5 separate regions of the Homo sapiens genome follow, and regions 2, 3, 4 and 5 are each linked to region 1. The links are contacts of gene promoters, found by promoter capture Hi-C in blood cells and fetal thymus (Javierre and others, 2016). All regions are on one chromosome and are shown on one strand. Each heading gives the region's core, a stretch centred on a gene start or on the middle of the fragment in contact. The rest is flanking DNA. Distances are from core to core; before and after follow the strand shown.

Region 1 (5,488 bases), core at 867-3,366:
TGTTTGGGATGCAGACTGTCAAGACCCAACCTGGTATCTGGTTCATAAGCAGTCCCTGAAACCTCCCTCCGGTTCCAACAAGCTGCTCAAGCCAGGAAACGGTGGTCCTGGGGACTCCTGGACCTTCAGCTTGAGAAACACTGAAGGGGTACCATTTACCACCACATCCTACTGGATTACAAACGCTAGATCTTTGGATCTCCACGACTAGCAAGCAAGTTAAAGACTTTTAGATGGCAGGCGTTATCGGTCAGGTTGGGAGTGAACGCTTTGTCCAGAGGAGGAGGTAGGGACGCCGGGAAGCAACAACTCTGATTTTATTTCGCCGGCTCCACAGCCTCCCATTGCCCCAGGAGCCCACCCGCACTCCAACCCCCGCATCTCGGACCTGTGGCCTCAGCCCAGACTCACATCACCAAGTGCACCTACCCAGCCTCCGTTATCCTGGATCCAGGTGTGCAGGTGCCGGTTCAGGTACTCAGTCATCCACAGGGCGATGTTGTCCACCAGGGGCGACATCTCCCGGTTGACGCTCTCCACACACATGACCCCACCGAACTCAAAGAAGGCCACAATCCTCCCCCAGTTCACCCCGTCCCTGAAGAGCTCCTCCACCACCGTGGCAAAGCGTCCCCGCGCGGTGAAGGGCGTCAGGTGCAGCTGGCTGGACATCTCGGCGAAGTCGCGGCGGTAGCGGCGGGAGAAGTCGTCGCCGGCCTGGCGGAGGGTCAGGTGGACCACAGGTGGCACCGGGCTGAGCGCAGGCCCCGCGGCGGCGCCGGGGGCAGCCGGGGTCTGCAGCGGCGAGGTCCTGGCGACCGGGTCCCGGGATGCGGCTGGATGGGGCGTGTGCCCGGGCTGGGAGGAGAAGATGCCCGGTGCGGGGGCGGCCCCCGGGGGCGCGGCGCCCACATCTCCCGCATCCCACTCGTAGCCCCTCTGCGACAGCTTATAATGGATGTACTTCATCACTATCTCCCGGTTATCGTACCCTGTTCTCCCAGCGTGCGCCATCCTTCCCAGAGGAAAAGCAACGGGGGCCAACGGCACCTCTCGCCCCAGCTCCCACCCCACGGCCCCCAGAGAAAGAAGAGGAGTTATAATCCAGCTATTTTATTGGATGTGCTTTGCATTCTTGGACGAGGGGGTGTCTTCAATCACGCGGAACACTTGATTCTGGTGTTTCCCCCTTGGCATGAGATGCAGGAAATTTTTATTCCAATTCCTTTCGGATCTTTATTTCATGAGGCACGTTATTATTAGTAAGTATTGTTAATATCAGTCTACTTCCTCTGTGATGCTGAAAGGTTAAAGAAAAAACAAACTAATAAGTAAAAAATCAGGTGCGTTTCCCTGTACACACTGAGTGAAAGCAGGGCATACACACTACAAGTAACACGGCTAAAAAGAATGTATTAAGCTGCCTGGAAATTAAATTTACTCGAATGCACTTTAAGTAAAAAATCTCAAAGGTTTCCATTGAAAGTTACATTAAACCAATTTCCTGTGCAGAGAACTTACTTGTATTTTTTAAGTACAGCATGATCCTCTGTCAAGTTTCCTTTTTGTAAAACCAAAACAAATGCATAAGGCAACGATCCCATCAATCTTCAGCACTCTCCAGTTATAGCTGATTTGAAACTTCCCAATGAATCAGGAGTCGCGGGGAGAGGGAGTAAAAATTAGGAGGATTTCCAGATCGATTCCCAGACTTCTGCTTCACAGAAATGTCAATCCGCAGGAATCCCAACCGGAGATCTCAAGAGCTCGAGAAAAAAAAAAGGCAGCGGCGGCGGCAGATGAATTACAATTTTCAGTCCGGTATTCGCAGAAGTCCTGTGATGTTTTCCCCTTCTCGGCAATTTACACGCGCGCACACACGCGCGGGCACAGGCATGAATCTCTATCCACGGGACCGCTTCACGCCTCCCCAGGAGAGAGACAGGGGAGAGGGGACGATGAAGGAGCCGGGGACGGAGGCAGGAATCCTCTTCTGATTAAACTCCGAACAGCAAATGCATTTTCCGAAAAGCTGCTGGATAAATGAAGGCAGGACGCGCCTGGCCCGCCGGTGCCGAGCGCTAGAAGCCCGCGCTGTGTGTGGTGCGGCGAGGGGTGGGGAGAAGGAGGTGGTGGGGGAGGGTTTTATTTTTTCCCTCTTTTCCTAAAAAGGATGACTGCTACGAAGTTCTCCCCCCTGGACCCCCTCTTCCGCTGCACCCCACCGGCGCACCCCGCCTCCGGGCTGCGCACCCTTTCTCCTCCTCCTGGTCCTGCGCGGCGGCGCTGGCTACGGCCGCCTCCCGGAGCTCCCGCCGCGCAGCCCGCTCCGAGCGCTGACGGCCGCCGGCAGGGAGGGCCCGGAGCCCCGGCACCTTCGCTGGCAGCGGCGGCGGCGGCAGCGCGGCGGGGCCACGGAGAGCGGCGGGCGGGAGCGCGGCGGGCGGGCGGGCAGGCGGCGCGGAGGGGCGGGCGCGGGAGGAAGGGGGCGGGAGCGGGGCTGTGGTGCCTGTCCTCTTACTTCATTCTCTGCACAGCCCGACCGGTTTCCTGTGCGTAACGTCACACGGTTCATTCAAAAAAAGAAGAAAGAAAGAGCCCTCCTCTGAGCCACCCGACCGCCCCCTCCGCCCCGCTCCCTGGCCCGGGTTAAAGGCGCCGCGGCAGGCCCGGGAGTGGCGCGTCCCGCCGGGGGCACATGGCGCGCGGGGCCGCGGCCGGGGAGGGCGCGTCCGGGCCGGCCACCCGCCCGCTCCGCTGCGCCCGCGGGGCCCGGCCAGTGGGTGGCGCGGGCGGCACAGGCCTCCCGCGCGGCCGCGGCGCGGTGGGTGTGCGCGGGGCCTTCTGCTCAGGCCTGCGGCAGGCCGCGTGCGGACTTGGTGGTCGCTGGGGTCCGCGACGGGGTGGGGGCTCCCGGGGAACCGCACGCGGCCGGGCCGGGCGGACGACGGAGTGCGGAGGGGGGCGGCTGGCGGGAGGGTGCGCCATGAAAACAAGGGCTGGAAAAGCGCCGGGAACCGCCTGGACCCTTTCTGGCCGTGTGAGTGTGTGTGGAGTGTGTGTGTGTGTGTGTGTGTGTGTGTGTGTCTCGCCTGGACCTTTTCTAGCCGTGTATGTGGGAGTGTGTGTGTCGCCTGGACCCTTTCTAGCCGTGTATGAGAGTGTGTACACGCGCCTACACACACACACGTTGTGTTACCGGCGCTCGGCCGCCGGGGGAAGACCCAGGCCAATGCCGCCCCCCACCGCCCCCAGCAGTGGGACCTCAGCGCTGCCCTGCTGTGAAGACAGGTGACTCTGCACGTTTTAAGCAATGTCTAGGGACGCCCCGAGCGTGGTGTTTACTTTCAAGTAGCTTCCTAGGTGTCCGCGCACTACACACGCACGCGCATCCCCGCCCGTGTCCACCTGAACACCTAGTCCGTGGCCCAGGCCATGCAGAACTCAGCGCTCCAGGGAAGGGGTTTATCAAGGGCTTTACGACAGTTTAAGTCAATGTTTTCCCTCTGTCCCTAACACCTTTTACACTGGTTTAGTGCTACACGATGAGGACTTCCATATAGTAACTTTCAGGCCCACCGTCCTAACGCTGGGGTGGGTGGGCTCCTAAAGGTCTCCACCTTTGCCTCGTAGCCAATCCTAGTTGGCCGCACTTTCTCAAATGAGGTACATAGATACACACATACACATTCACACTCGCAGACGTGTGTACGCGCAAGCAGACAGTTTTAAATTAATCAGCATGAATAGCCCCTAGCAAAAAAGGACAAGAGGACAAACAAGTTGCACGTGTGTATTTTTATCTCCAAGAGTCTTTGACAAAGCACCAAGAAAAGAAAAAGGTCTTCTAGAAGCACAGCGGCTTACTTAATAGGGCTCGAGTGCAAATATATAGGGACACTGGATTATTGGGGTCAAGAAAGATGACAAATGAGTACTACAATGTGTACAAATATGCTATGACTTTTTTTTTTTTTTTGAGACAGAGTCTTGCTCTGTTGTATCTTGGAGGCTGGTGTGCAGTGGTGCGATCTCAGCTCACTGCAACCTCTGCCTCCCAGGCTCAAGCAATTCTGCCTCAGCCTCCTGAGTAGCTGGGATTACACGTGCACGCCACTACGCTCTGCTAATTTTTGTATTTTTAGTAGAGACGGGGTTTCGCCATACTGGCCAGGCTGGTCTCGAACTCCTGACCTCGTTATCCGCCTGCCTCAGCCTCCCAAAGTGCTGGGATTACAGACATGAGCCACTGTGCCCTGCCTGACATCTTTATTTTGTCTCATTCCTACTCTAAAATCAAAACATTCTTTAAAAAGCCAGAAAAGCACACCAAATTATGATTTTTTTAATTTTTACTTAGTTGGCCTTTTTTTTTTTTTTTTAAGAGATGGCTTTTGCTATGTTGCCCAGGCTGGACTCGAACTTCTGGGCTCGAAGGATTCTCCCACCTCAGCCTCATGAATAGCTGGGACTATACGCACTGCCATCTCTCTTGGGTGTTTTTATTTTATTTCTTCATTTATTGTATCCCATCAGCCCAACAAGCCAACTTCTCTCACATAGGAATGGGGGCCTGGGTACAAATTTCTTATCCAGGCAAGAGGGGATGAAAGGAGATCCTCCTTCTTGCCCTTCTGATGGTTGGGACAGAGTCCCTTTTATGCGCGTGGGAGGTGTTTTGGTCTGGATAGACACTGGGTATAGATTGACCTAGAATAAATGTTCTCACATAAATTCATACCAATTGCACAACAGTATGGTTTAGAAATCTTGAAAGCGTATTTTAAAGCCCCAAAATTACCTAAGAGGAATTGAAAGGCTTCAAGCTCCTAATACTCAGCATATGAGTGAGGAAATGATAGGACAAACCTGCAAAAGAAACTGTACTTCTGCAAAGGGGGCAGCCAGAAGGAAACGGATCCCCTACTTCCAGAGAAAGAAAAGCTGACTGATTTTCGTCTTCCTTTGCTCCCACAGAGCCTCACTCTATGGATTTTCCCAGACTGATTCCTTATGTGGCATCTTGGCTATAATCAGTCTTGAGACAGGTCTGTATTGCAGTCTTTGGCTAGGGGTTATATTTTCCCTGGGAATGTTCTAGATACTCTTTCAAATGAAAGAGTGAAACCATTCCTGCGTTCAGATTCCATGTTTATTAGATTCCATTTTAAAGCATAAGGGCAAGTATTCCCAGGAAGTATGTGACATTGACTACTCGTCTTTGGGCAATGCTGAGGTGGGGGAGGGAACACCAGCCTGAGGCAGGAGTAACTGGATTTGAATCCTAGATCTATGCCTGAGACCTTCCAACAACCTTACAAACATATGCACAGTGGACTTTTCACTTTCCAAGATGTTTTCTACTTGTAAGAGCCAATGGATGACCCTTTTGGCAGCTTTACCTGGTTGGATTCTACAAGTAGCGTGGCACCAGGAAGAGAAAAAAAACAAGATGCAGGGAATGGAGATTGTATCAAGAGTCTGAATG
Region 2 (5,488 bases), core at 1,802-4,301, 340 kb before region 1:
TACATGGTTCTATGGGTTTTATCAACAATGTAAGACTGGAAACCTCTTGAAGGTAGATGTTTCTTTGCAGGTCACTGCTGTCTGCCCACGTCATTTTTTCAGGCACAGGGCAGATGACTGACACTTTGATGAATTAGCGAATGGAGCAGAACTCCTGGAGCCCATGGTGGAAGCTTCATTGCTCATGAATCACAAAACCATTGGTTTTGATAGAGAGAAATCTAAAGGGATGGACAGAACAGCAAGAACAGTTTCTGCCAAATTCCATGCTTTGGGGACAGATTATGTCAGTAGAATCAAGGCAGTTTAAGGTTGTGCTTGAAGCCCATCTTACTAATTTTACTAATAGGAATGCTTACCTGCTTATAAGTGTGGTGTGGCAAAGTTGTGTGAGAAGCTGGGAAAGACATCCCTAGGACAAGTAAACACCTTGCCAAATCCCAAATAAAGGGAAGTGGTAGGACTGGAAAGGAAATGGATATTCTGTGGAAGAAACACTTTGTCATCCCAGACAGGGATTTGTCATAATGAAGCCTTTCCTGGAAAGAAGTGTTAAAACTAGGGCATGTAGAGGTATGTCATGGACCTGAGAATCTCAAAATTTGAAGAATAAAGAACCAAGCAGGTACACGTGGCAAAAAAAAAAAAAAAAAAAAAAAAACCCAGGTCTTTTTATTGGCAAGTGGTCTGGCACTTTGGTAATTGATTTAAATAGCATGCACACAGCTGAACTAAAGCCAGCAGATCTTGCCTTCTCCATTGGTCAACAGGAAATCAAGTTCAAGGAAGTTGTAAGAATTGGCATTTCTTCTTTAGCATCTGTTCTCCTGACATGAGCATTCTTACCCACCTAGTCAAACCAAGGTTTTCTCCACCGCTTAAGTACTTTCAAGTCCTCTCTGGACCTTTAGACACTACTGCCTCTTGTGATCATGGAGAGCAATGGAAGATTTAGGAGCATTGTCTTGATATATGCCTGCGTCATGTGTCTTTGCTCAGGACTGGCTTCTATCAGAAAGTCTCTTGCTACCTCAGAGTCTTCCTACACCCAGCCCGTCTGAGGGCCGATCCTTGATCACCATGTTCACCAAGGGAGGGAAGATGTAAACCCATGTTTACAGGAGGAGCTAGCCAGCTATGCTTGCTGTGTAAGGCTAGATGATGGCTTGCTTTAGATAAACAGCAGGACTTGTGACCTAGTGTGAATGGGGTCCCAGTAACACACATAACCGAAATCTTTTCCTTTTGTCCCTACTGCTCCTTACCTGCCCAGGCCTACTACCTGGGGTTTCTGATGACAGGTGCACATTAACTACTCACTACAGAGTGAGCCCTTCTTTCCTCTGTGGGCCACACAGCACTTCTCTGTGGTCCTACAGTCGAGACAGTCGAGGGACCCGCAGGGAACCTGCACAGTTGCCGCAGGTGCTCTGTATTAACTGTCTGTCTGCAAACCCTTGTTCTTCCAGGATGGCAAGGTGAACGGAGTGACTGAGTCCACGCGCATCCTGGGCTACACCTTCCTCCATCCCAGTGTGGTGCCTCGCCCCCACGTGCAGTCCGTGCTCCTGACTCCCCAGGATGAGTTCTTCATCCTAGGCAGTAAGGGGTTGTGGGACAGCCTGTCCGTCGAGGAGGCCGTGGAAGCCGTGCGCAACGTGCCCGATGCCCTGGCTGCTGCCAAGAAGCTGTGTACCCTGGCCCAGAGCTACGGCTGCCACGACAGCATCAGCGCTGTGGTGGTGCAGCTCAGTGTCACTGAGGACAGCTTCTGCTGCTGCGAGCTCAGCGCCGGTGGGGCTGTGCCACCACCCAGTCCTGGCATCTTTCCTCCCTCAGTGAACATGGTGATCAAGGATCGGCCCTCAGATGGGCTGGGCGTGCCGTCCTCCAGCAGCGGCATGGCTTCCGAGATTAGCAGTGAGCTCTCCACTTCTGAGATGAGCAGCGAGGTGGGGTCAACAGCCTCCGATGAGCCCCCGCCCGGAGCCCTAAGCGAGAACAGCCCTGCCTACCCCAGTGAGCAGCGCTGCATGCTCCACCCCATCTGTCTGTCCAACTCCTTCCAGCGCCAGCTATCCAGCGCCACGTTCTCTAGCGCCTTCTCCGACAACGGCCTTGACAGTGACGATGAGGAGCCCATCGAGGGCGTCTTCACCAACGGCAGCCGGGTGGAGGTGGAGGTGGACATCCACTGCAGCCGGGCCAAGGAGAAGGAGAAACAGCAGCACCTGCTTCAGGTGCCAGCAGAGGCCAGTGATGAGGGCATTGTCATCAGCGCCAACGAGGATGAGCCAGGTCTGCCCAGGAAGGCAGACTTCTCTGCCGTTGGGACCATTGGGCGCCGGAGGGCCAATGGCTCTGTTGCGCCCCAGGAAAGGAGCCACAATGTGATAGAGGTGGCTACAGACGCACCTCTTCGAAAGCCTGGAGGCTATTTTGCTGCCCCGGCTCAGCCGGATCCTGATGATCAGTTTATCATACCCCCGGAGCTGGAAGAGGAGGTCAAAGAAATCATGAAGCATCACCAGGAGCAACAGCAGCAGCAGCAGCCGCCACCACCCCCTCAGCTCCAGCCGCAGCTGCCGCGGCACTACCAGCTGGACCAGCTGCCAGATTATTACGACACGCCACTATGACCCAGCCGAGCTGTTTAACAAATAAACTAACCACAAAAGACTGAGTTGCAAGAGTCTCCCAGGCTCACATTAAACCAGGGGTTTTACTCCACATCCTTCCCCCAGACACTGTTCCCAACCTGTCATCGCAGCTAATCTGTAGGTTCTCTTTCTTTGGGTTATTTTTTTAAGTAATCACCACTTTCTTCTAGTGATGCTTTACCAATATGATTTACATTTGTTAACTTCTCCCCCTAACATATCAGATATGTAAAGACAAAGAACAAAAGGTTTAATATATTACAGAGAAACAGTTAATGATAATGTAATATTTTTTAAAATGGCTTTTTGTTGTTTGTTTGGAAGGCAGGGCAGGCTGCCGTTGCTAAATGATTTAATAATATTGTAATTCTGTATTTCTTTGGGGGGAAAAGGCTTTTGTTTTGTTTTGTTTTGTTTTGTTTTGTTTTTGTCTTGAAAATAATAGACATTTGTAGAATATGGAGACTAACTCCTAGGAGTTGCTTTACTCTGTCAGGTGACTTAAGTCACTGGGATTCACTAATTTTCTCTGAGAGAACAGCTGATTGAGAATTTCCATTGTAAATAGCTCAGTGTTGTATAGTGAGGCTTACGATGTTTTGTAGTCTTGGCGTAAGGACACAGCCCAAGTAACTGACGTTTCCCCTCCCCCTCCCCTCTGAGGAGCCTGCCTGCCTCACAACTCACCCTCACTTCACTGAATGAGGAGGCTGAGCAGCTGCAGTGTTTCTGTCCGGAGGAAATGGATCTTAGGCCACTGGACAAGAACCTGCACCCAAGGGCCCTGAACCCATTTTCCTCCCCTGTCCCAGCCTTCCCACTTTGACAGACACTTTTAACTGTGTTCCTTACTGCTGCCACAATCAGCATGGTTGTATAGTGCCCCATTAGGCCATTTACATACCCAGAGTTATACTCAAGCAGAATGCACAAATGGACATGTCATAATTTTTGTTACAATAAATATGAAATTTACAAGTATTTACAAGTATCTGCTTTTGTCTCAGCAGCCAGATGTTTCTTGGAGACAGTCACACTAGCTTGCGTTTAGAAAGAATGGATGGAATATTGGGGTTATCAGATATTTCTGATTTTTTTTTTAAGAGAAAAACATCCAGTAAGTTAACCTACATTGAATGAAATGTGAAATTAACCAAATGGTAAGCAGTATAATTAGCTGATCTTACAGCTTTTCTTTTCTTTTCTTTTCTTTTTTTTTTTTTTTTGAAATGGAGTCTCGCTCTGTCTCCCAGGCTGGAGTGCAGTGGTGTGTTCTCTGCCCACTGCAACCTCCGCCTCCCGGGTTCAAGTGATTCTCCTGCCTCAGCCTCTGAATAGCTGGCATTACAGGCACCCGCCACCATGCCCAGCCAATTTTTGTATTTTTAGTAAAGATGGGGTTTCACCATGTTGGCCAGGCTGGTCTCATACTCCTAACCTCAAGTGATCTGCCCACCTCAGCCTCCCAAAGTGCTAGGATTACAGGTGTGAGCCACTGTGCCAGGCCTGATCTTACAGCTTTTCTATTTCTTCTTATGACTTAGGGTAAGATGTTTGGGTACTTCTTAGGGAAGATGTGAGAAGGGGGATAGACAGAGGTTGCATAGATAGGGGAGATCCCTGGACAACTTTACTCTCACGAAGCGAAGTTTTCAGTTTTCCTGGGGGGCCTGTAGCTCACATAAGCAGGTTAACCTGCCTCTTACTTGGACAGGGTCAATCAAGCTGGTTGGCTTGCCTTCCACCACCAGCAGGAATCGTGTAGGTGCAGCGGTGTGTACTTAAGAAAGCCAGTATTCCCAGCTACTAGTCAACTGCATTTACAGACAGGGACCTCCGCCTTCACCTCGCCCCCACCCTACACGTGTGAACCTTGTGTGGAAGATACTGTTGGTCTTCATCTCACATGGACCACCTTCCTATGTAGACCTGGCTTCCTTCTTTAGGTCTGCCCTTGGGTGGGACCTGGCTAATTCAGTGACAGGGCAGTTCTTATTTCTTAACTAGTAGACTTGGTGGTGGGCTCTGTGTCCCCCTCTAGGAGGCCGCTGGGTGGACTTTGTTTTCGTAATGGCCGTACTTCATTTCCACATCAGGCTACTTGCACACAGTGCTCTTTGGAAACCACTAAAGCCATGGAAGAGAATTGCCTCATCTCGGCCCAGTGAGAGACCCAGGGACCAAGGAAGCTGACTCCCCAGTACAGGCGGAGCGCTCTGGCTGAGACTGGAAGCTAAACCACCTTGGGACCCCTGCCCCGGTTCCACTTCCCAGCCCCTTACCTTGTCCCTCGGGCTGCCCCACTGGGTTGAAGCAGATGTGGACAACTCCAAGCTCTCACACCGACGCCTTAGTTCCTGCAGGTCTGGGCTGCTTCTCTGACTTCCTCAGTTCTTAAACCCCCTCTGGGCAGGGTTCACCTGTCCCCGGGGGTGGAGCACACCCCGGCCTTGTATGTGGATCTCTTCCACCGCAGCTCACTTCCAGAGTGGTCAGAACTGGCTGAGCGTGGTCCACGGAGGCAGCAATCGCTTCCAGATTCTAAAATGGGCCCCACAGCAACTCTGTGCCAGGGGCAGCCACTGGGCCCCACAAGCTCTGATGCAGGGACACCTCATTTCCTAACTTCTGTGTCTGCTGCAGGAGAAAGGGGTATGAGACTTGGAATTGCTTTTTTCCTGAGTCCTCCAGTTTATTTGTGCTTGCTGCTGGGTTTATTGTCTCTTTTCGGTCCCATTGTGCACATACTACATGTAAGGCACCTTGGAGTGAGACTGCCCTTTGGAGGCTTGGGGTAAGTAGGGCATTTAGATGAAAAGGTAATTCAG
Region 3 (5,488 bases), core at 2,026-4,525, 320 kb before region 1:
GGACTCATGCATCTTTGTTTGTGAAGGGAAGCTTTGGACGCAGGAACGTGGAGTCGTTTCCAGTCTTGTTATTCATGCTTCCAGGACACCACTGTTTCCCAGGGCACAGCCGCAGGGATGGGCACCCATAGGTTCATCCCCCAGAGCATGAATTTAGGGAGAGGAGAGTAGCCTTCCGCTGCACAGAACTGTCTGCTTCAGTGCTGAGGAAGCCAGCACTTTGGGTAGTTTGGGACCTTTTCATTCTAGATGGATGTGACTTGGCAAAATTTAGCTTAAAATGAAAAGAAAGAGGGCTTTAGTGGGGTGGGTGTGTGTGTGTGTGTGTGTGTGTGTGTGTGTGTGTGTATGTCTAGATCTTTTGCTAGTGACGGAACTGTGGCATCACTGTCCCAGTGAAATGAAGGGAAAAGGAGGCTCTCTAGGAGAGCGAGTGGGAGGGAGATTGGTCTGTATGTCAGGGAGGATCCAAGATGTCGCAATTCAGATTACAGAGCACGCTTGGAGAGATCTCCAGTTCATTACTGTGGAAGGCAAGATGTGTTAAACACGGCGCACTTTATGGGGAGAGGGGAGCTGCCTTTCGATAGAAGGAGGAAATGTGACCCAGAGGTAAGGCTTGAGTACAAACCATATTTGGGGAGGTTGCGATATCTTCCATTCCCTTCCTGGGAGCGGGTTTGAGCGGGAAGCGGGGGGATTTACAGCCATCCCTCCAGAAGGTAGTGAACAGGTTTTGGAAAACTATTTGGGACCCCATTTCTGTTATCACTCTTTTATATTTGGTCAAGATTGTTTGTTTAAATCCCTGGAAAGTTTTTCTTTTTTTTTTTTAATGGTAATGAAAGAAAAGTATTCATCTTCTTTAAGGATTTTTGTCCACCCTTGTTAAACATTTCTTTTTTCGTTCCAAGATTTTAAGTGGGCATCTCTCATCTTGTAAGATTCTTGGGAGAGTGACCTTGCCTTCCTAACATTTTTATCTCAGGGGCTCCCACTGTGCCTGGCACATTATAAGCTTCCAGCATAATTGTATGTATAAAAGAATGCACCAGCTTTGCAAACAACATGCCCCCGTTCTTTTTCATTGGCAGCCTTCTTATTTAGCACCATATATGACTAACCATCTTTACACAGGTGCTGGAAATGGAACAAAGCCTTATTTGCCCCAGAAGCTATGGACACATTTCAAAATATAACCAATAGTGCTTTTTCCCAACTATAAAATAATGCACACAGAAAAGTTGGAAAAGATAGAAACATTCAGGAAGAAAAAAAGATGGCTCCTGACCTCACAGTCTAGAGATAAACCTATTACCATTGTTTAATTTTTGTCCAGCTTTTTTGCTAAGCACCATTTTAAAATAATTGTGATTATGCTGTATTTTATATCCTTTTTGAAATTTCGTTGGGCATCTTCCCTTTTTCTTAAAAATTCTTAATAAATATTCCCAAATTCACCCAACAGAATTACTATGTATTCAAACGTATTAATAACACATTTATATGGTTTTCAGCTTTTTGCTATTGTAAATAACACTTTATTGAACATTGATAAGGTTTAACTGTGTCCCCACTGAAAATCTCATCTTGATTTGTAATCCCCATAAGCCCCACCTGTCATGGGAGGGACCAGGTGGAGGTAATTGAATCATGGGGCCGGTTTCCCCTGTGCTGTTCTCGTGATAGCGAGTGAGTTCTCACGAGATCTGATGGTTTTATAAGCGTCTGGCCTTTCCCCTGCTGGCGCTCATTCTCGCTTTTGCTGCCCTGGGAAGTGGTGTCTTCTGCCATGATTGTAAGTTTCTTGAGGCTTCCCCAGCCATGTGGAACTGTGAGTCAATTAAACCTGTTTTCTTTATAAATTACCCAGTCTAGGGTATTTCTTCATAGCAGCGTGAGAGCAGACTCACAAACATCTTTGCTATTATCTTTTTTCATTTTTTGAAACAGAGTCTCACTCTGTCACCCAGGCTAGAGTGCAGTGGCACAATCGCAGCTCACTGCAACTTCTGTCTCCGGGGTTCAAGCAATTCTCGTGCCTCAGCCTCCTGAGTAGATGGGATTACAGGTGTGCACCACTATGCCCAGCTAATTTTTGTATTTTTAGTAGAGACAGGGTTTTGCCATATTGGTCAGGCTGGTCTTGAACTCCTGGCCTCAAGTGATCTGCTCCCTCCCCCCGCCCTGGCCTCCCAAAGTGCTGGGATTACAGGCGTGAGCCACCGCACCTGGCCCCCTTTGCTGTTATCTTGATTAGACGTTATGAACAACTGGAGCAAGAGGTAGAGAGCTGTGGCTGTTCCTCTCTGCAGCATAGGAAGAATAGCTTTGGATTTCAGATGAGGGTGGGTGCAGCCCCGGTAACGCTGGTGAAGGGTGGGTGGGCCCAGGGCAGTGGAGCAAGAGTGAAGGAGAGTGCTGAGGTCAAAGCACCTACCACAAAGGGAAGCGTAATGTAGATTTTTTTTCCTTTTGGAAGAAAAAAGAAGTTGAGTGAAGAGAAAATTCTGATGTAGCATTGGATGATTTTTAAAGGGTTAAACAGCTCAGCTTTGAGAAGGAAAATCAAGATTTCATTCTTACCCTTTGCAAATGCTCCTTTAGTGGCTGGTGATGGATAGCAGATTTCTATGACCTGGCTTATGTGCTCTCAAATCTAGTAGCTGCAAGTTCATGGTAAGATGTAAAATGTTAAGATGAGTTCCAGATAGGTGGTACTTTGCCAATGTAGGACGCTGGTGTTCTCCATGAACTCAGCTTGGCATATTTTTTTCCTCAAGCATTTCACAGTCTATTAGAGTAAACGTCATTTTAAAAAATAATAGGAGCCAAGGGTTCTGGAGCAGACAGCTCTGAGTTCAAATCCTGGTGCTGCCCTCATTACTAGGTGACTGCTGTGGTCTGAATCCTTGTGTCCCCCCTAAAATTCGTATGTTGAAACCTAATCACCAATGTAATGGTATTTGGAGGTGGGGAACTTTGGGAGGTGATTAGTCATGACGGATCTGCCCTTATGAATGGGATTAGTGCCCTTATAAAAGAGGCCCAAGGGAACTGCCTTGCCTCTTCCACTGTGTGAGGACACAGGAAAGGTGCCATCTCTGAACCAGAAAAGTGGGACCTCACCAGACACCGAATCTGCTGACGCCCAGCCTCCAGAACGGTGAGCAATAAATTTCTGTTGTTTCTGGGCCATCCAGTATGTTAAGGTACTTTTGTAGTAGCAGCTCCGAGTCAGCGATCTTAGCAGTGTAACCTCCCAGTGCTTTGGTGACTTTATCTGTAAGCTGGGATTCACAGTACACAGCCATCAATGCAGTGAAACACTGTGCCTGATGTCATTAGCAGAGGCCTGGCCTGGGGAAGGGCTTAATTTCAAAGTGTCTCACATGCACAGAAAGGAGAAGAGCCACCCACCTCAGGAACAGAGATGGCTTCACGAAATAGGGGCACGTTCTCCAGTGGTTCTTATGGGATGTTTGGGAAGTGGCCCATGGAGAAGTGGGGTAACGACACCCCCGGCAGGGAACAGGTGTTTCAGGCATGTGAAGTGTGTCCTGACCCCTAACGGCTTCTACTGGATGATTCTGCATTTTTTGACATCTTCCTAGATCACGTGTAAGTGAGAATTGTCCTCCTGCCTCCTTAAAATAATTATTCTTCTAAGAATCAAAAATGATTAGATCTTAAGGAACTTTTTCTAGGCAAACAATAAGAGGAACATATCTTCCTCTATTCTTCTTTGATGTTGAATTTAGTATTGTTTAAGTAGTCTGGCATAAACTGGTAACTGTTGGTGGATTTCAGTGTCTCTTATGTACTTTAAATACCATCTGTCTGGTGCTAGCGCAGTGTCTACTGTCTTTCTGCCTGTGAATATGTAATAGGCATCACAAACACATCCCGTCCAAAACAGAACTCCCGGTTTGCTACTCCAAACTATTTCTCCCATAGTCTTTTTCATCACAAAAATGTCACCATTATCCACTCATTTGCTCTGCCCTAAACTCCAGGGATCATCCTCGATTCCTTTTTCCCTCCCTACTCTGACTTTGCACAGATGATTCATTGACAAGTCTGTTTCTTGCTTTCTTTCTTTCTTTCTTTTTTTTTTTTTTTAAGACAGAGTCTTGCTCTGTCTCCCAGGCTGAAGTGCAGTGGTGTGGTCTTGGCTCACTGCAACCTCTACCTCCCGGGTTCAAGCAATTCTCCTGCCTCAGCCTTGCAAGTAGCTGGGATTACAGGCACCTGCCACCATGCCCAGCTAATTTTTGTGTTTTTAGTAGAGACAGGGTTTCACCATGTTGGCTAGTCTTGTCTCGAACTCATGATCTCGTGATCCGCCTGCCCCGGCCTCCCAAAGTGCTGGGATTATAGACATGAGCCACTGCGCCCAGCCTCTGTGTGTGTGTCTGAGATGGAGTCTCGCTCTGTCACCCAGGCTGGAGTGCAGTGGCGCCATCTCGGCTCACTGCAACCTCTGCCTCCCGGATTCAAGCAGTTCTCCTGCCTCAGCCTCCCAAGTAGCTGGGATTACAGGCATGCACCACCATGCCCGGCTAATTTTGTATTTTTAGTAGAGACAGGGTTTCTCCATGTTGGTCAGGCTGGTCTCGAACTCGTGACCTCAGGTGATTCGCCCACCTCGGCCTCTCAAAGTGCTGGGATTACAGGCGTGAGCCACCACGCCCAGCCTCATTTTTAAAAAGACATATCCCAGCCATCCACTTCTGTCTGTCTCCACAGCTCCTGTAAGCTACCATCACCTCTCATTTGCACTTCTGTAGGAGGGTCCATTATGCACCCACAGCCATCTATTTCCCATCAGAGCCATCATTGTTAATGCACATCATGCCAGATTCCCGAGGGGAGGTCTCCAGTGGCCTTCCATCATTTTAGAATACAACCCAAACTCCTCATCAGGGCCCCCGTGGTCTTATGTGATCTGTCCACCTCCCAGCCATGGGCTTTTGCCCTCTTGCCCTCACTCCACCCTCTGGCCCCAAGATTCTCAGCCTCAGCACCAGGCACATTTCAGTCCAGATCATTCTTTGGTTGGGTGCTGTCCTGTGCATTGTGGGACAGTTAGTGCCATCTCTAGCCTCTACCTACTAGCTGCCACTAGCATCCTCCCACACTGCCGACAGCAACACTGTCTGCAGACATTGCCAGATATCCCCTGGGAGGCAAAGTCACCCCCAGTTACAGTGACTGGTCTAGTTACACCGGCTTCCTTCCTGCGGCGCGAGCCTGGCTGGTCTCCATTTAGACCCAGTGTAGTCGCTCTTCTTCAGTCTGCTGTGCTTCCTCCGAGAGTGTTGTGTCAGCTCCTTCTCTGTTCTGACCTCAGCTCAGATGTTGCCTCCCCACAGGGTAACTGAAGGGTCTTCTTTGACCACCCTGACTTGGAAGGCCCTCCCTTCCAAGTCACCCCACATTACATTACTGCATTTTAATTTCTTCCTGTCCTTCATCAATATCCGAA
Region 4 (5,488 bases), core at 1,090-3,589, 310 kb before region 1:
AACTGTAGGTTTTTGTAGATGTTCTTTATCAAATGGAGAAAGTTTCCCTCTATTTCTAGTTTCCTGTGAGTTTTTATCATGAATGGATGTTGGATTTGTCAAATGGCTTTTCTGCATCTATTGATGTGATTATATGATTTTCTTTTTTAGGCTGTTAGTGTGATATATTAATTGATTTTCAAATGTTGAACCAGCTTTGCATAACTAGAATAAATCCTACTTAATTGTGGTGTATAATTCTTTTTATACATTGTTGGATTTGATTTGTTAATATTTTGCTGAGAATTATTGCATCTACATTCATGAGAAACATTGGTCTGTAGTTTTCTCTTCTTGTAATATTTGTCTGGCTATAGTATGCTGGTAATGCTGGCCTCAGAATGAATTAGGAAGTGTTCCCTCCGCTTCTATTTTCTGGAAGAGATTGCAAGGAATTGGTGTAATTTCTTCCTTAAATGTTTGGTAGAATTCACCAGCAAATCCGTCTGGGCTTGGTGCTTTTCGTTTTGGAACATCCTTAATTACTGTACAATTTCTTTAATAGATATAGGCCTATTCAGATTATCTGTTTCTCTTTGTATGAGTTTTGGTAGATTGTGTCTTTCACGGAATTGGTCTATTTCATCCAAGTTATCAAATTTGGGGCATAGAGTTGTTTATATTCTTTTATTATTCTGTTAATGTCCATGCTTATGTTATTTTTTGCCATGTAAAAGTTTTTTTTAATATAGTCAAGTTTATAAATGTCTTTCTTTCACTAATTCTGGATTTTGAGACATGTGGCTGCTTCCTGGTAGTAGAGTAACTTACCCATGTTTTCCTCTGGGATTTGTGTGGCTTACTCTGGTATTTATCCTGTAGTATAGTGTGATAAGCAGATTCAATTGTATCTTTTCCCATATAGTTATTCAGTTGTTCAAACATCATTTATTAAAAATTGTTTTCTTTCTTTACTGATTTGAGACATTACCTTCATAGTATGGTATATTTCCTTGTGTAGTTTAGTCTATTTCTGGATTTTTGATTTTATTTAATTGGACTATTCATATGCCAATACAACATTGTTTTAATTATAAGGATTTTACATTATGTTTTAATATCTGGTAACCTCCCCTTTCCAACATACACATATTACTCTTTTTTTCCACGGGATTTTCCTAGGTATTCCTGCCTGATATTTCTTCCATATGATCTTTATAATTAACTTGGCTAGCTCCAGGAAAAAACAAAAACAAACCCCAATACCACATTGATTTTATACATAAATTAGGGAGAGTCAACATTTTTAAGATAGTGAGTCTATTCAAAAAAATACGTGTCTTTTCCTCAAATGTACTTTCATATCTTCAGGAGTATATAATAGTCTTCTCATATGGGTTTTACACATTTCACGTTATGTTTATGTCAAGCTATTTTACTTAAAATACTTTTGACATTATAAATTGATCATTGTTTAAATATATAAAAGCTATTGTTTTCCGGATGCTAAGTTTCTGTTATTTGTAATGAATTCCTTTATTGCTCGTAGTAGTTTTTCCATTAATTTTTTGTTTCCCAGATATATAGTCATGTCATCAACAAACAGAGATACTTTTACCTTTCAGTTTCCAGTTATTATTCCTCTAATTGCTTTCTCTTATTTGATTTATTGGTGGTTATCCCCAATGCAGTATTGAATATGGACATGTGGCCTACCTTGTCTTTCTTCTATTATTATTATTAGTGAGGCTACGTATAGTGTTTCTCCATTAAGTAAAATGTGGTCTTTGGGCTGAATTATATAGAATATATACCTTTTAAAAGTAAGCTTTGTATTGAACATTAACACACATAAGGAACAGTGCACAAATTATTCGTTTGCCAGTAAGAATTTTCATGAAGTTCACACACTTGTGTAGCCCGCACCATTACTATATGTCCAGAAGCCTCCTTCATGTCTCCTCTAGTCACCACCCATACAAGGGACCACTATCCTCCTCACTGCCAACACTACAGACTACTCTTGCCTGTTTTGGACTATATAAATAGGATCATCTTCTTTTCTTATTTGCCTTTCTTTTATTTGACATTTTTTTTTTTTTGTGAGATCCACCCGTATGTAATGTGTTAAGTAGTTTGTGTTTTTCATTGTTGTATAGTATTTCATTCTGTGGATATACAACCATATATTTATCCATTCTACTGTTAATGGACATTTGGGTAATTTCTGCTTTGGGATTTTTATGAATGCCATTGCTATTCACATTCATACTGAATTTCTGTTGGATTGTTACCCAGGAGTGGAATTTCTAGGCCATAAAGCATGCATACTCTCAGCTATAGGAGACATAGATAAACACTATCTGTACCGAGTTATGCTCTCACCAATACATTAGAGTTTTAGTTGCTCCAAAATCTCATCAACCTGTGGTACTCTGTGTTGTGTTTTGTTGCCATGTCTTTTTGTAGTTTAATTTTGATGTTGACCATCTTTGGATGTGTTTATTGGTCATTGGGGTATATTCTCACGTGCGGTCCCTGTTCAAGTCTTTTGACCACTTTTCTGTTGAGTTGTTTTGGTTTTTTTTGTTTTTTATTTTTGAGATGGCGTCTCGCTCTGTTGCCCAGGCTGGAGTGTGGTGGCACGATCTCGGCTCACTGCAACCTCCACCTCCCAGGTTCAAGCGATTCTCCTGCCTCAGCCTCCTGAGTAGCTGGGACTATAGGCATGCACCACCACACCCAGCTAATTTTTCTATTTTTAGTACAGATGGTGTTTCATTGTGTTGGCCAGGATGGTCTCGATCTCTTGAGAGCTGTCTTTTTCTTATTGATTTGCAGGGCATTTTATACATTGTTGAGTGTGTGTATTACACATATCTTCTCTCACTCCAAAGCTTGCCCTTTCATCTTAATGTGATCTTCTGATAAACAAAAATATTTTTATTTCAATTAAGTCTAGTTTACCAATCTGTTTCCTTAAGGTCAGTGCTTTGAGATATTGCCCTATGTTTTCTTCTAGGTGGCTTAGTATTTGATCTTTTCCATTTAGATCTACAACACAGAATTGATTTCTGTGTGTGGTGTGCATTAGGTGTTAAGACATATTTTGTCTGCATAAGGTTAACCAATTGACCCAACATCATTTTTTTAAATGGCCAGGTTTTCCTCATTCTACTGCATTGTCACTACTGTCATCAATTAGATGACCTTGTGTGTAAGCCTGTGTCTAGACTTTCTATGTTGTTCCATTGGTTTATTTGTTCTTATGCCTTTATTACACTGTCTTAATTGCTGTAGTTTTATAACAAGTCCTTTTTAAAAAAAATTGTGGTAGAATGCATATAACAAAATTAACCATTGTAACCATTTTTATGCATACAGTTCAATGTCAGTAAGTGTATTTGCATCATTGGGCAACCATCACCACCCTCCATCTCTAGAACTCTTTTTATCTTTCCAAACTGAAACTCTGTATCCGTTAAACAAACACTCTCCATTATCTCTCCCCTAAGCCTCTGGCAATCACCATCCTACTTTCTGTCTTGATAAGCTTGACTAGTCTAGGTACCTCATATAAGGAGAATCATATGACATTTGTCCTTTAGTGACTGGCATAGTTCAATTACCATAATGTCGTCAAGATTCATCCGTGTGGTAGCAGGTGTCAGAATTTTTTCCCTTCTAAGGCTGGATAATATTTCACTGCATGTGTACACCACATTTTGTCTACAGACACTGGGGTTGCTTCCACCTTTTGCTATTGCAAATAATGCTGGTGTGAACATGGGTGTACAAGTATCTGTTTAAGTCCTTGCTTTCAATGTTGTGGGGTATATACCCAGACATGGAATTATGTAATAAGCTTTGATATCTGATAATGTAACTCCTTTAGCGTTCTTCTTTAAGTAATTTTTAAAAAATTTCCCCATGAATTTTTAGAATCAGCTTGCCAATTTAAAAAAATCTGGCATTTTGATGGGAATTACTTTAAATCTATAAATATATTTTGGAATAATTGACATTTTTATACTTTTGAGGCTTTCATTCCATGAACGTTGCAAATTCCTCTGTTTACTTAGATCTTTAATTTCTTTCAATGATGTTTTGTATTTTCAGGGTAGGGGTCTTAGACATATTTTGTTAGATTTATTCCCAGGTATTTGTATTTGATGTTTTCTTGATGCAGTTGTAAAGGTGTCATTTAAAAAACTCATTTTCTAGTTAAGCTTGCTGGTGCAGAGAAACTCAATAGATCATATATTATGAATTCTTAGCAACTTGGTTCATGGGGCGGCTCTACCTGATCTTCGAGGACACAAGTTTAAATCTCATAATGACTGTAATCTCTGTTAATTTATCTGCTTACTGAATTTTGTGAAGTATGTTAAGTGGCCCAGATAAAGACAGGGTTTGCCTGGTCTGTGCTTCACCAAAAATCACTGGGGTTGGTGTTAGCGGTGGTCACACACTGTGAACAAACGCTGGGTTCATGTCTAGGATCCAATTCTAGTGGGTTATTCCAAACCAATGGTGTTTATGCAGAGAGCACAGGCAGGAGGTGGGACCCAGGAGCCAAGGCACATGGAAGAAAGGGGCTGTTCTTGGCCGGGACAGGAGGCTGGGGCTGGGAATGATGTGAAGGCTGGCTCAGGTCTAATTTGGGAGGTGCTGGTAGTAGAATGCGCCTGGGAAAGGTGTGGACGTTTCATGTTGGGTCAGCTGGGGCCATGGAGCAAGACCTCCCAGGGTGGTGGCCTCTATGAAGGGAAACGTCTACGATGGCCACCGATGAGGAATGAGAGGGAATTGCTTCTAAACTCCTGTGTTCTCTATGTCTAGGACGGTGCCTCTGACTGTACACATATATCCTTTTTCTTTTTCTCGCTCTCTTTTTTTTTTTTTCTTTTTTTGAGATGGAGTCTTGCTCTGTTGCCCAGGCTGGAGTACAGTGGCGTGATCTTGGCTCACTGCAACCTCCGCCTCCCGGGTTCCAGCGATTCTCCTGCCTCAGCCTCCCGAGTAGCTGGGATTACAGGCACATGCCACCACGCCCGGCTACTTTTTGTATTTTCAGTAGAGACGGGGTTTCACCTTGTTGGCCAGGCTGGTCTCAAACTCCTGACCTCAAGTGATCCCCCGACTTGGCCTCCCAAAGTGCTGGGATTACAGGTGTGAGCCACTGCGCCTGGCCCTGCACGCATATTTTCTGGAAAAAGTACAGAAGATTTATTTCATGTTAAGCAAGGGGAATTTTTAGGTTGCATAATTTTAAGAAAGTCTTTTTCACAAGCAATAATAAAAACAGTAAGAATAGGAGTAATGAAGAAAATTGAGAAGAAACGACGCGAAGGTTCTCACAGTTTGTCATGAAGCCACTAGGGGGCAGGGGAAGACAGCTATTTGGAGCCGCTGAAACCCATAGCAAACCCCATCCTTTTTTTTCCCACCAAAGGAAAGCTTGAGTTAAAAAAAAAAAAAAAGTATAGCCCAAACCAAAAATGGCTTT
Region 5 (5,488 bases), core at 1,927-4,426, 290 kb before region 1:
AAGGAACCAGGATCCTCACTGAACCTGTCTGGCCTGACCTACGATAGATTTTTTTTTTCCTTGAATCAACTTAAAAGTTTCTCAAGTAGAAAATTTTAAAAATACAGATAAAGGGAAAAAAATCATTCCTCAAATCTCTACATCATAGATGCCAATGTTCACACTTTGGCTTATACACTACTATAATGGACTGAATGTTTATGCTCCCCCCAAATCCACATGTTGACATCCTAACCCCCAGGTGATGGTATATGGGAGGTGATCAGGTCGTGAGGTGGAGCTTGCACAATTGGCTTTTGTGCCCTTATAAAAGAGACCTCGGAGAGCTGTCTTGGCCCTTCTACCACCTGAGACACAGTGAGAAGAGCTGTCTGTGAACCAGGAAGAGGGCCCTCACCAGACACCAAATCTGCTGGCACCTTGATCTGGGACTTCTCAGCTTCTCAAACGATGAGAAATACATGTATGTTGTTTATAAGTCACCTAGTGTATGGTATTTTCTTACAGCAGCCAGGGATGGACTAAGACAACTGCCAGCCTTTCTCTTGTATGTATGAATAAACACTTTTCAAAATAATGACAGGGAATTATTCTGAAATATTATTTCCTAACCTGCTTTTCACTTCACAGATGGTAATAATTTTCTTTTCTGTTTTTTTGTTTGTTTGTTTGTTTTTGTTTTCTTTTTTTTTTTGAGATGGAGTCTAGCTCTGTCACCCAGGCTGGAATTCAGTGGCGTGATCTTGGCTCACTGCAACCTCCGCCTCCCGGGTTCAAGTGATTCTCCTGCCTCAGCCTCCCAAGTTACTGAGATTACAGACGTCCACCACCACATCCAGGTAATTATTGTATTTTTAATAGAGACTGGGTTTCACTATGTTGGCCAGGCTGGTCTAGAACTTCTGACCTCAGGTGACCCACCTGCATCGGCTTCCCAAAGTGCTGGGATTACAGGCGTGAACCACCACGCCCAGCCACGATAATAATTTTCCATGTGAAAAATGGTCTTTTCAGAATCACTGCTGCCTCTTTTTTTGGGGACCGAAAATCTGTGGAGACAGTTTTAGTTGTCATAATAATGAGAGGTGGGAGTGGGATGTGGTGGCAACGTGCAAATGACATTTAGAAGACAAAGGAGTGAAAAATTAGATGTCCTCCAAAACTCGAGTCCAGCCCCAGTTTTGAACATCCTAATGGACATTCATACAGGTAAAAAAAAAATTTATAATGATTTGAAACCCAAACCTAACTTCATTTTGCATATAAGCACGAAGCTTTTTGGTGTGGTTTTAGTATACACTAAATTTTCCAGCAATGCAACTAATAGTGTGTTTAGACCTTTTACTGTGAAATGTTGACTCAACCACCTGGAGAATCTCGTCAGCAATGGCAATGCCAGTGACAGCAGCTCAATCAACATCACAACATCACACCACCTGTATATAGGTGTGTGGTGGTCACTGTATCTGTGATGACTATACATAGAGGTGAATATACTTATTTAGCCTTCTATTTCTAAACATCATATAAATAAAGTGTCTACATTTAGTGGAACATTGTCTTATTCCTACTAAATCTCAACTTATTTAAAAGTAGATTCAAGCATCTGACTTCTTCATTGTATCTTCAAATGTAGTTGTGTCTAAAAATTGCAAATTGACACTGTGATCTCTTGGCAATGCACACTTCTTCTAAGCTCTGCCTTCTGCCTCTGGGGCTGGAAACCTCCAAGTTCCAGCTCCTAGATTCCTTCCCATCTTGCCTCACTTGAGGGTCTGCCAGTAGGAGACACTGGCTTCTGGTTCATCCTGGATCTTATGCTATGAAGGATGGCAGCCACAGCCTGGCTACCAGCGACTCTGAGTAACACCATTTCTGTTTTTGCTTCTCCAGTTCTCGGGGGTAGTCATTCCCTATAGTTACTAATCCTGGAAAACCCTACCTTCATCGATTTGCTCTTCCAGCCTTTCCAAAATCTTTGTAACCAATTCTCTACATTAACTCTCCTCTGAAATACCTACAGTAGTTGTTTTTGTGACTGGACATATATGGATAAAAAATGCATAGGTTTTATTCTATTTGAATTGTTTCTATTATGGTCAGGCCATTGTGTACATTCTTTTAAAAAATTATGCACCTGAGTAAATATATTATCTGTGAATTTAATTTCAGGGTAACAAAAGAGGGGTATTACAAAATATTTATTACTATTATAAAGGGGTGTTGAGCTTGACAGAGTTGAAAACCACTCATCTATGTCATCCTTTTTAGTGACTTCCTTTATCTTCTTACACCTTCCCCTGTTGTTTGACATTCAGGTTACTGCTCACATGTCATCCCCCCATTTATACCGTATTAGTTACTTGTTGCCTTCCTCCACCAAAAGATAAGCTTTATGAGGGCAGCCATTTAATCTGTTGCGTTCACCACTAGACTACTAGTATCTGAATATGTTAGCTACTCAGTAGATACCAAATCAGTACTTGCATATGTTAATTACTCAATAAATATTTTAAAAATAGATGGATGAATCTTTCAGATCTTGGCTTTGACATTATTTCTTCCTGTAAGTCTTTCCTGACATGCCTTGGTCAGATGAAATGTCCATCCTTGTGAATAAAATGATAGCAGAATTGTGGATGAGAACCAAATAACAAGCAAACAGTAACACATAGTATCCAATCAGACCATAGAGAGGTTATTAGAGTCCAAACAAATGATGAAGGAAATTGGTTACAATATGGGTAGGGGCACATCTACCCAACTCAGGTAATAAAGAGGTGAAAAGGGTTTGATTAAAAAGTGGATAAAATAGAAACACGATGCACTGGTTGAAGACTAAATCCCAGTTGAAAAGCGTGGCTTTGGGTTTCTGGTTGATGGAATTGGTTCAGTATATTCACCCATGCTTTGGTAGGGTCAGTCATGCCCACATCCCACTCAATCTCTGACCAATAAGCAATTTCACTGTAGTCCTGAAACTTCATCCCAGTCTTATCAGTGCTGTTCCAAGTGATAAGAATCTGTCCTCTCTACTTAAGTGGCTTTACAGTTCTAAGATTATATTAATATAAGCAGAGAAATGGTGAAGGAAAACAAACCTGTGGTATTAATATTTTGTGTTAAGTTTATTAATAAGTTTTATAATCAGGATAATCTACATAATAAATAAGGGGTAGAAACAATATACATTTGAAGCTCTGATATATCAATTTTGGGATTTCAATTTGAAATACATCATTGGTATTAGACCTGCAATTTTAATTCATAAAGTATAAGATAATTTGATTAAATTTTAAAACAGTATTTGAATGTTTAAGAAAAACTGACCTGAAATAAGTATGGTGTGTGTGCCTGTAATCGCATCTACTCAGCAGTCTGAGGCAGGAGGATCGCTCGAGCCCAGGAGTTTGAGGTCAGCCTGGGAAACATAGCAAGACCCTGTCTATAGAAAAAATAAAAAAAAGAAAAAGAAAATAAAAACTGGCTCACTATGTTTATAAGTTTGATTTGCAAGAGTTTCTTAAGAGTTTAGAAGATTTTGTTTTGTAAATCTGTCCAGTCAGGCATTAAAAATGTTTAAAAGAACATAATTATGTTTGTAAGTTGTATTTAATTGTTTTTTCTTTTCTTTTTTTTTTTTTTTTTGAGACAGAGTCTCGCCCTGTTGCCCAGGCTGGAGTGCAGTGGCACAATCTCAGCTCACTGCAAGCTCCGCACGCTGGGTTCACGCCATTTTCCTGCCTCAGCTTCCTGAGTAGCTGGGAATATAGGCGCCCGCCACTACGCCCGGCTAATTTTTTGTATATTTAGTAGAGACAGGGTTTCACCGTGTTAGCCAGGATTGTCTCGATCTCCTGATCTCGTGATCCACCCACCTCGACCTCCCAAAGTGCTGGGATTACAGGCGTGAGCCACCGCGCCCGGCCGGCGTATTTAATTGTTTAGAAGACTTTAACTATTAAGCTTAAGTTAATTTAAGATTAATCAAAGAACAAGTGAATATCATATTTCTTATTTTTGGACAAAAATTACTAGATTTATAAGTAGGATACAATTTGTAAATTAAACACAAGGGTGTAAGAATATTTACGTTTAAAATTTTACTATTAATAAATTGGTTATTAATTTTAATAATTATAATAAATAGGCCTGTTTACAAACTCTCTGCAATATAAAAATAATTCAGAAGATACTCCCCAAAGAGCATTAGAATTTTTTGTTTAATTTTCCATCTCCCCAGTTTGTCTCTAAATTCTTTAATTTTCCTGGAAAAATCAACTCTCTTTGTGTCAAACATATTTTTATGTTCTTTGTGTAATTGATCCTCTCCATTAATACACAATAATCCAGTTTTTACCACTAATATGGTTTGGCTGTGTCCCCACCCAAATCTCATCTTGAACTGTAGTTCCTCCAGTCCCATGTCATGGGAAGTACCCACTGGGAGATAATTGAATAATGGGGTGGTTACGCTCACGCTGTTCTTGTGATAGTGAGTTCTCATGAGATCTGATGTTTTTATAAGAGGCTTTTCCCCCTTTGCTTGGCGCTTCTCCTTCCTGCTACCATGTGAAGAAGGATATGTTTGTCTCCCCTTCCACTATGATTGTAAGTTTCCTGTGGCCTCCCCAGTCCTGCAGAACTGTGAGTCAATTAAACCTCTTCCTTTTATCAATTACCCAGTCTCAGGCAGTTCTTTACAGCATGTGAAAGTGGATTAATACACCTACTTATTGTATCCTTGGTCTTCTATGATCCTGAATTAACAATAACATTGCCCTAAGCCTGCAACAATAAGATGTATATAGGCAGTCTTCACAGCTTCCCTTAAATTCTGTTTTCCTTCAAGAATACCTGGTAACTTCTTCTAGCAATATGGCAGTCAGGTACACAATGACTGTCCTCACTGGAACAACTAAAATGGTTTTTAAAAAATTTTAAACCAAATTTTATAAATGATTATAAGTGAGGAATACACCAAGTCTAAAAATAAAATAAAATCAAGACCTCTGGGAGGTTAATAAGTTCCAAAGCTAGCTTTTCCTCTAAGGGTTTCCACCAGATCTTAAGATTTCACTTTGCAAGTACCTTGGGTGTAGGGGGCTGGAGATAAAGCCCAGATTCTGCCCAAGGAGGGAATATAATAGGAGGCCCCCATATATAGCTGGGACTTACACTGCATATGAGTGAGACATAAGCCCCACTGCACAGAAATTTATAGCAAAAAATTTGCTTTTCTCAGCCTTGCTGACAGGTGGAGAAGGAAAAAAATATATCCCTTGAGAATTTGCAACCATATGCCAGCCCTCATGCAAGATTTTATCTTAACTAACCACTTGTGTGATCTGGAAAACATCAAGCAGACTTTAAATTAAAATCCTTTGTTTGTAGCATCTCCAGATGATTCACAGAAGTAAGCGACCTTCCTAAAGAAAAAAAAACATAATTTAATTCAGTTCTGCAAGAATTCCCACAGGTAAAGTTG

What was found. The method cuts DNA at HindIII sites, captures the fragments that hold promoters and counts their contacts. A CHiCAGO score of 5 or more calls a contact.
Region 2: a contact is called between a fragment that was not itself captured here and the fragment with the promoter of BCL2 in region 1, in 1 of 17 cell types (fetal thymus). The highest score is 6.0, in fetal thymus.
Region 3: a fragment that was not itself captured here is called in contact with the fragment with the promoter of BCL2 in region 1 in 13 of 17 cell types (megakaryocytes, M2 macrophages, M1 macrophages and 10 more); the score reaches 9.5 in megakaryocytes.
Region 4: a contact is called between a fragment that was not itself captured here and the fragment with the promoter of BCL2 in region 1, in 16 of 17 cell types (megakaryocytes, total CD8 T cells, total CD4 T cells and 13 more). The highest score is 36.5, in megakaryocytes.
Region 5: a contact is called between a fragment that was not itself captured here and the fragment with the promoter of BCL2 in region 1, in 16 of 17 cell types (activated CD4 T cells, total CD8 T cells, total B cells and 13 more). The highest score is 20.4, in activated CD4 T cells.

What each region holds. Positions count from the first base shown.
Region 1 is chr18:63,317,653-63,323,140 of GRCh38, forward strand. BCL2 (BCL2 apoptosis regulator) reads right to left here and starts at 2,117. Exons shown (of 3, transcript NM_000633.3): 1 at 1,522-2,117; 2 at 430-1,300. The coding sequence starts at 1,014. RefSeq lists silencers at 739-978, 2,334-2,523, 2,684-2,893, 2,924-2,993 and an enhancer at 3,885-3,974. The HindIII fragment of the contact is 7,545 bases long and covers 1-5,488 here.
Region 2 is chr18:62,976,793-62,982,280 of GRCh38, forward strand. PHLPP1 (PH domain and leucine rich repeat protein phosphatase 1) reads left to right here. Exons shown (of 17, transcript NM_194449.4): 17 at 1,470-3,641. The coding sequence ends at 2,639. Among named protein-coding and RNA genes, the nearest start is that of PHLPP1, 260 kb to the left of the region's middle. The HindIII fragment of the contact is 5,760 bases long and covers 172-5,488 here.
Region 3 is chr18:62,993,432-62,998,919 of GRCh38, forward strand. No RefSeq gene overlaps it. Among named protein-coding and RNA genes, the nearest start is that of PHLPP1, 280 kb to the left of the region's middle. The HindIII fragment of the contact is 4,518 bases long and covers 1,017-5,488 here.
Region 4 is chr18:63,011,083-63,016,570 of GRCh38, forward strand. No RefSeq gene overlaps it. Among named protein-coding and RNA genes, the nearest start is that of PHLPP1, 300 kb to the left of the region's middle. The HindIII fragment of the contact is 1,069 bases long and covers 1,806-2,874 here.
Region 5 is chr18:63,026,292-63,031,779 of GRCh38, forward strand. No RefSeq gene overlaps it. Among named protein-coding and RNA genes, the nearest start is that of BCL2, 290 kb to the right of the region's middle. The HindIII fragment of the contact is 1,575 bases long and covers 2,390-3,964 here.